2 separate regions of the Homo sapiens genome follow, and region 2 is linked to region 1. The links are contacts of gene promoters, found by promoter capture Hi-C in blood cells and fetal thymus (Javierre and others, 2016). All regions are on one chromosome and are shown on one strand. The core of a region is centred on a gene start or on the middle of the fragment in contact, and the rest is flanking DNA. Distances in the headings are between cores, read along the strand shown.

Region 1 (4,603 bases), core at 1,999-4,498:
AAGTCTTAGCTATTTTGGCATAGCTAGCACACATTAATCTTTATATATAAGAAGTATGTAAGTAAAATGAAAATTATTTATTCTTAGAAGATGTTTATAGTCGCTTAATAAGCCAGTTAAACGTTTTACATCTACTGAAGTTGGAAAATAGATGTTTTTGAAAACTCTTTTAGTTTTCATTGTAGCAATTTTCTGGTTATATTTTTATATTTGCTAACTTATAATTTACTATTTCCTCAAAAATTTCTTATTCTAACTCTCAATTCCTAACTTAATTTTCAAAAAGAAGGTTGGAAGATGCCTTTATATTTTGAAAATTTTAAAATATTATGACTTTAGCCTCATCCTTCTTTCTAATATTGTCTTTTCCCCACAGGAATTTGTCCTCTTTAAGGATTGTCATAGGTGTGTCTCTTTCACTAAGCTTTTTCTCAAATAATATGTACTTTAAAAAACAGGAATTTTATTCTCATTATATGAAAAGTTATTATTAGTGCATTTTCTAAAGAATGTATTAGTTTTAGTTTTAAGTCAAATGAGTCAGTGACATTTGCATTCTAGTGAATAACTTGAGTTTTATAGCTATTTGAAATAAGCCTGCAAAATTTTACTAAAATAAACATCATTTAATTTGCTAATATTACATCTGAATTTGGATAATGAAATCAATTAGATGAGAACTAATTCAGCATCATTTACCCTTCACTTAAAATGTGAAAAGTTGTAAGTAGATTTCTTACACTATTAAAAAATAAAATTTAATATTGTATTAGTAACAGTTTCTTAACATTACGATTTTAGACAAAGATGCTGTGAGCAGTATTTTCTACAGTCCTCCTTATCACTGTTTTTCTTCTCTGCATTTTTCTTTTTTACTTCTTTTTTTAAAGAGATGGGGTCCCATGATGTTGTCCAGGCTTGTCTTGAACTACTGGGCTCAAGAGATATCCTCTGTCAACCATCCAAAGTGCTGGGATTACAGGCATGAGTGACCACACCCAGCCCTTCCCTCTATCTTAAAAGTGAGCTAGAAGAAATTTCACTCAAATATATTTGCTTTCTCAGAACTGAGAAAATAGGACAAATTCTATACTCATCAGATGCTGAAATTTGGAAACATAGTTATGTTTAACTACAGAACTGTGATTTTTATAAATTATGTAATTTATTTTATGATACACATGGAATATCTTTTCCACTATCCAGAAACCCCCACCAGTCTCCAAAGATTTCGGTGATTAGGGAGCTCTGCTATATCTGCAGCTATTTGAAGCTTACTAAAACAATGGACACTCTAACTACATTTTTAATTTTTTTCTTTTTTTTTGAGACAGAGTCTTGCTTTTGTCACCCAGGTCAGAGTGCAATGGCATGATCTTGGCTCACTGCAACCTTCACCTCCTGGGTTCAAGTGATTCTCCTGCCTCAGCCTCCTGAGTAGCTGGGATTACAGGCACCCACCACCATGCCCGGCTAATTTTTGTATTTTTAGTAGAGACGGGGTTTAGCCATATCGGCCGGGCTGGTCTCGAACTCCTGACCTCGTGATCTGCCTGCCTCGGCCTCTCAAAGTGCTGGGATTACAGTCGTGAGCCACTGTGCCCGGCCTTAATTTTTATTAATCTCTTCACTGGTTATTAAAGTTATTAGACATGTGTTGTGTATACATCTCAATTAATCCTTCTAACTGAGATCAGAATTATTTTACCTTTTTTTTGTAGATGAAAAAACTAAAGTAAGAAAGTTAGTTTTCCCAAGACCATATAACTAATAATAATGGAGAAAATTCCAAATTTTATTAAACTTTTCTAAAAATTTCAAGATCTTTGACTTTAAACTGTTAACTTAGCCATTTTACACTTTCTTATGTCTTATTTTTTTCGTTTGTTTGTGATACTCAGCTTAACATTTAAAAATTAATTATTAAACAATAAAGAAGCTTCCCAAACTTTAACCCTGAGAGTGGATTGCCTTTTTTCTCAGTAGCCATTGATAAGTTATTTCTCAGATCCTTAGCTGGATTTTAAGTCCACTTTCTAATTCCTAGCAGTCTGTCACCTTTGCTTTACTTCTGTACTATTACTCACTTCACTTTTTTCATTGGCAACCTGATACTCTGGGAAACCTACAATAACAAACTTAAAATACCATCAGAATCCTTTTGTCCCATTCAAATGATTACACCCTTCCTACCCCATTATTTCCCTAAATTAATAGTCGTTGGTTACCTGCATGAATAATTGTTGGGGACTCAGATAGTGTGGCAAGAAAGCACTGATTTTTCACTCACAGTATTACATCTAGAAAGTAGGTTTAGACTGTAGGTACCTGTAACTGTAGCGACTTGGAAGAGATGCAATGTTTTATCTGTTTTCTTTCTTACTCCTATGGTCTTGATTACACAAGACAAAATTTTTAAGTCCTAAATAGACTTTTTTTTTGTAAATGTGGCAATATATGCATAATATTAAGTTTTGAGTTTCCTAGATTCAACTAGTATTTATTTTGTTGTGGTATCAACTCATACTTTTTAGGGGCATTTTTCCGTATCTTCATATGTAGTTCATAGAGAAGTTGAAAAAGGCTGTATAGCAGGGCTTTAAACAAATGTCACTTTAATATAATATAATGTAAAGTTTCAAAATTTGACTGTAGGTCTTTTAATTCTTAACAAAAAAGACAGGGTCTCTCTCTGTCACCCAAGCTGGCATCTCCCTATGTTGCTCACGCTGATCTTCAACTCCTGGCCCCAGGCGATCCCCAGTTTGGCCTCCCAAGTGCTGGGATTACAGGCATGAGTCACTGTGCCTTCCCTTAACTTAGGTCTTAATTCATTACACTGGCATCATTTTCTTTAGATGAAATTAATAATTTTAAAATGAATGAACTATTTTTGAATCCTGAACCAAGATCTTTACCTAATTTATTTACAACTTGACAAACCTGGAATTAGTTACAATTAAGTGGAATCTTGAAGTGGAAGCATGAAAAAAACTAGCTTGAAAATCAACTATTAAGGGCTTTGCAAATCAATTTTCCAAAGTGAGATGATGTTTGTTGTACTTTTAAACCCCTAGTTTACAATTTCTGTTGCATAGTTCTATATCATATCTTCAACATCCATGGAGTACTACCTCTTAAATGTATATGTTTGTAAGTGTGGAAACTTTCCTGTATCTTTTCCTGGACCTAGCTCAACCCTTGCACCTTTTTATTCCTAGAATTTGATTGAAATCACAACAGAGAAATGAAGAATCATACAAGGCAGATAGAATTTATTCTTCTGGGACTGACGGATAATTCTCAGTTACAGATTGTAATTTTCTTATTTCTACTTCTAAATTGTGTGTTGAGCATGATAGGGAACTTCACTATCATTGCCCTCATTCTGCTGGATTCCCAGCTCAAGACTCCAATGTATTTCTTCCTCCGTAATTTCTCTTTTCTGGAAATTTCATTCACAACTGCTTGCATTCCCAGATTCCTAATCACCATTGTTACCAGGGAAAAGACCATTTCCTGTAATGGTTGCATATCTCAGTTGTTTTTTTACATATTCTTGGGGGTTACAGAATTTTTCCTTCTAGCTGCTCTGTCCTATGATCGCTATGTTGCCATCTGCAAACCTTTGCGTTATATGTCCATCATGAGTAACAAAGTTTGCTACCAGCTTGTATTCAGTTCTTGGGTAACTGGATTCCTGATCATTTTCACTCCACTGATTTTAGGTCTTAACTTGGATTTCTGTGCTTCAAATATCATTGATCATTTCATTTGTGACATTTCTCTTATCCTACAACTTTCTTGCTCAGACACACATTTACTGGAACTGATTGCCTTTTTATTAGCTGTGATGACACTTATTGTCACATTGTTTTTAGTAATCCTTTCTTACTCTTACATCATCAAGACAATTCTGAAATTCCCTTCAGCTCAGCAAAAGAAGAAAGCCTTTTCCACCTGCTCTTCTCACATGATTGTTGTCTCCATCACTTATGGTAGTTGTATGTTTATCTACATAAAGCCATCAGCGAATGAAAGAGTTGCTTTAAGCAAAGGAGTAACTGTGCTCAATACTTCAGTTGCCCCGTTGTTAAACCCATTTATTTATACTCTGAGGAATCAGCAAGTTAAACAAGCCTTCAAAGCTGTATTTAGAAAGATATTTTCTGCTTCAGACAAGTAATACAACTTGTTGAAATAATTAACATGAAAACATAAAAGGATCTTTGAACAAAACACTAATTTGACTCTTCTAGTTTAAGAATTGATACCCAATATTCAATTATTTGTATGACTTTAGCTTGTCCAACAATCAGAACGTTTTTCATTCTATCCATTCTGACTTTAATTTTCTCTTTTTCAGTATTCAAACCTTTCTGTATTAGAAAGAAAACAATTGCAAAATTGATTTTCTCTAAAAGCATGTTAGAATAAAATAAATGAGTGGTTTTCAGTGATTATAGAATATAAGTTCTTCAAGAGTTTGATCTAAATAATTTATAAAAATTAAAAAATTATTTAAGAAAATTTGCGGGTACATAGTAGGTGTATAAATTTATGGGGTATATGAGATGTTTTGATACAGGCATTCAATGTGAAA
Region 2 (4,493 bases), core at 1,257-3,756, 210 kb after region 1:
GAAGCATTATATAGTATCATATAATGTTTTAACATTCAATATTCATCAAAGTGTATTTTTAAATATGATACTCTTTCTCAAGGGAAGTGGGGATATTTTGTGCATTAACCACAAAGAATAAAAAATGTACTGGGCCTTGTTTTTCTTGTTTAAAAGGTTGAAGCTTGAAGCTAAGTATACTTAGTGCTTATAAACATTCTTTACCTTAATTGAAATATTACATTAAACATTGACAGACATAAAAAAGAAAACTATTATTTTATGCGAGACTAAAAGGTGGGAATATAAAATGGAGAACGTAGCCTGTCATAGACAAAATCCACCTCAAGCTAAATGCACATCATTAATTCATCAGGTACAACTGAACATTTTATGTCCTATATAAATTTGACTTTCTTTTCTGCAAGTTATACTTTCTGCAGTCCTTGGGATATTGTCTAGTGGTCTGAAACACATTTCATTATAGATAACCATTTTCCACTTCTTCCATATTAATAGAAGTTTCCATGTCTTTGCCTTTGGTACAATTTATGGTAACCTTGTGGATAAATTCTGGCCAAAGGATGGAAACATAGATAGTTTGTGCAATTTCCCGGAATCATCCTTCATGTTCTTGTCAGCATCTCTTTTCCCCTAAAGGTGGAGGACAATGTAGAGGAGGCCCTAATGTGCACACAATGCACCCAATTCACAAATGGGGGACCCCAACTATATTAAATTCCCAGTCTTTTTAGAGACTACTTGCAAAGCTGCCTAACTTTTTCCCACTAGAAGACAATACTCTGGTCAGTAAAAAAGAAAGACACCTCTCAAAGGTGGGCACAACAATGTAGAAGACCAATTCGGAAAGTGTAAGTTTATGTAAAATAGGTGAAGGGTGAGAATCAATCAAAGAAAAGTGCGCCCAATGGGAAGATAGGTTCTCAATTCAGTTCAAGGATTTAACTTGTAGCTTGGCCTTCAGGCATTAAACTGTCTTCTGCTTGGAGGTGAGGTTTCACTGTGGACGTGCCCCTATCTGCCTAAGCATTTGACTACCTCCTGTCACTATCAAGTTACATGCAGATGGTGTAATAGTACCTTATTGTCACTATCAAGTGACATGCAGGTGGTGTAACAGTACCTCCTGTCACTATCAAGTGACATGCAGGTGGTGTAATAGTACCTTATTGTCTCTGTTATCCTGACAGAGCCATCTCTGTCTGGTAAAGGATGGAAGATGCAGCAGTCCATCAAAATTAAGGCTCTTGTGGCAGACGTAGAGTGGAAGTTTTCTTCTGGAGGAAAGGGCCCAGGATACTTCTTAAAGGCAAAGATTACTAATACCTCTCTCCATGGCCCCTGAGTATACAAGGTGTTTTCTCCTCATATGCCAGCTTTTTCTCTACCTATACTTCCTTCAAATCTGGGTTCTACATTCCTGTAGCTATAGCTTCACCTTTTTTTTTCTCCCAATCATAGCCGACTCATATTCAGATCTTTCATCTAGAAGAGTCAGGTAAATGAAGAAAAACGAAATTTTTTTTAAATTTCAACAAGTATCAAACTCTAATTTCTTAGGCCCCCTTGTGTCCAAATTACCACCTGGAAGGTATGGCACCAGCCTTATCTAGATTTGATCTTAGGGAAAAGAAAGGTACATCATTCTTTGAATGACTGAGGTGGAATTTTGAATTTTCAAAGTAAGTCTGTATAATTCCCAACCACTTTTATCTTGATCATTACCCTGGAAGAAGATGAGTAGTCAAGTCTGGGAACAGCTGCATTCAATGACCATACTGCTTTACCTAGGTGCATGGATCAGGAAGAGATGAGGAGGCAGAGGCTATTAGTCCTTTGCTGAATAGCTTGGACAATAAAAGTTGTCAAACTGTAGATGCTCTGAGGATCTAAAGACATGACACAGATAATGTCAAAGATCACAGTTGTGTGCCATAGTCAACTTATCAGTAACCTAAAACAGCATCTACCCGGTGAGGCACTACCAATAGACCCAAGGTAGTCAAGTTGCCAAAAGCAGGAGGAGGCAACATTCCTTGCAATATGGCCTACCCCAGCATGAGAAAAGCAAGTCAACTTTTGACAGGAGCTGCAAATATGCCATGCAATGATAGCATCTGCATTAGAAACATAGAGCCAAACTCTATCAGCAGCCTGATTCTAGTTATTTTTCTTATGAGAAAATGGTGTTAAAAACCAAGATCTGGGCACTGGGTGTGCTTATTGCTACTGGGCTGTTTTTGCTTCTAGACACTCTCAGGTGACAGAGCAAGGAAATATAGGTGTTTATATTAACCTACGCCTAGACACACAATGATAAATATTTTATAGTATCAATCTGTATATATATTAAATTAAACTTTAGTTTATACCGTCACCATGTTTAAAATGCCATCACGAGTCATTCCTTATCAGTAATCTCCCAATGCAGCAGTGAGATACTGGCTTCCATCATCTGCCATCCACTTGCTCAATCATTCAGTTCCAGTATGTATGTGTATTGGGAGAAAACTTTATTAACTTCACTGTATTGGTTATGTATAGTTCCTTTTGACGTTAGTCTTACTGACTCCACTTATTTCTCTTAGGTCAGCAACTTTTTACACTATGCCCTTCAGTGAGGTTGTGTCACACATTTGTAATATAGCTAAATTCTTCCACATTCTATTGTGATATCCCAGATTTTTTTTTAATTTTCACACATTAGAAGCATTCTTTGTATTGTAAAGTTCTACTGGTTTTGACAACTGCACGGTGTTATGTTATTGCAGGATCTGGCCAGCAGTCCGCAATGCAATGAGGGGCTCTTTCTTTATTCCCAGGCAGATTGGCAGGTCGAGAAATAATAGACACACACAAGACAGTGAAAGCTGGGTCCAGGGGGGTCACCGCCTTCTAGTCCCGCGATGCCACTAATGCACTGGATATACCAGCATTTATTATTAAGTTTAGTGAGGGCGGGGCAGGTTAGTGAGGGATTTAGGGTCTTTTGATTATGAGGTGAGATGGTCACATGGGGATGAAGTAGTTCTTTAACATAACATCTGTATGCAGAAGTACAGTATACAGAGATAAGAGTTTACAATATAGTGTGTGCATCAGTAATTTCTAACAGAGCCTTAAAACAGAAACACAGTCTTTCCATAACCTATGATTAGCAAGTTATTAATCAGCAGTAACAGTTGCAGCAAAAGCTGGTTACAAACAATCCATAGAAACAGGAGGTGAAGCTAGACAACCGGTTAGACCGGAAAATATCAGAAGGGAGTATGCCTTACCCCCAAAGAGGCCTAGAAGAGCTGTGGCAAGATGAGGGCGTTTATAGCCCTATCTTATCCATATGAACAGGTGCCCCCCCAATGCGTCCATTTATAGGCTCTACACAAGGGTCCCATTCCATTCCCAGAGCTATGAACATCTGCTTTTCTGGGACAGGAATCTTGGTGATGTGAAACCTCCCTGACTGCATGTCCGTTCGTAGGCTCTCTGCAGGGGGAAGCACATCATGTGCTGTTGGCTCATTCTGGCAGTCCAACCTGGCATTGTCTTTACACAATCCTGCATGCAATTTTGTATTTACAATAATCAGGAGCATTTCACCTTTTATTCCATAGCAATAGTTTCAGGGGGTCTCCCTACATTATGTATTCATCTTTACATTACTATATAGAATAATTTTACTACCCTAACCAAAGATTCCCTATGCTTCCTCGTTTAATCCTTACTCCAACAAAGTCCTGGCAACCACTGATATGTTACTTTCTCTATAAATTTATCTCTACCAGAATATTATATAAATGAAATTAAATAATTTATAGCCTTTTAAGTCTGCCTAGTTTCATTGAGAAATATGCATTTAAAATTCTTCTCTGTCATTGTTCAACTCCCACTTATGAGTGAGAACATGCGGTGTTTGGTTTTCTGTTCTTGTGTTAGTTTGCTGAGAATGATAGTTTCCAGCATCATCCATGTCCCTGCAAAGGATATGAACTCATCGTTTTTTATGGATGTATATTTTATAGTGTTCCATGGTGTATATGTACCACATTTTCTTTATCCAACCTATCATTGATGGGCATTTGGGTTGGTTCCAAGTCTTTGCTATTGCTAATAGTGCCACAATAAACATATGTGTGCATGTGTCTTTATAGTAGAATGATTTATAATCCTTTGGGTATATACCCAGTAATGGGATTGCTGGGTCAAATGGTATTTCTAGTTCTAGATCCTTGAGGAATCACCACACTGTCTTCCACAATGGTTGAACTAATTTATACTCCCACCAACAGTGTAAAAGTGTTCCTACTTCTCCACATCCTCACCAACATCTGTTGTTTCCTCGTTCCCTTTGCCTCCCAGTCCCCAGGGGGTGCAATGCAGAGGGGGCTCCATGGGTAGAGCAGACACAATCAGTCTGTAACACAACTGTGAAATCCTGAACTTAGGGAACCCCCACTATTTTAAAGAGATAGCTAGAAAACCTGCCCAACCTG

The links. Contacts are between HindIII fragments. The CHiCAGO score rates a contact against its expected background, and 5 or more counts as called.
Region 2: a fragment that was not itself captured here is called in contact with the fragment with the promoter of OR6C70 in region 1 in 1 of 17 cell types (neutrophils); the score reaches 5.3 in neutrophils.

What each region holds. Positions count from the first base shown.
Region 1 is chr12:55,468,783-55,473,385 of GRCh38, reverse strand. It overlaps OR6C70 (olfactory receptor family 6 subfamily C member 70), which reads left to right and starts at 3,248. Exons shown (of 1, transcript NM_001005499.1): 1 at 3,248-4,186. The coding sequence starts at 3,248. The coding sequence ends at 4,186. The HindIII fragment of the contact is 2,936 bases long and covers 1,942-4,603 here.
Region 2 is chr12:55,255,132-55,259,624 of GRCh38, reverse strand. OR6C74 (olfactory receptor family 6 subfamily C member 74) reads right to left here. Exons shown (of 2, transcript NM_001005490.2): 2 at 3,000-4,493. Among named protein-coding and RNA genes, the nearest start is that of OR6C74, 13 kb to the right of the region's middle. The HindIII fragment of the contact is 4,681 bases long and covers 166-4,493 here.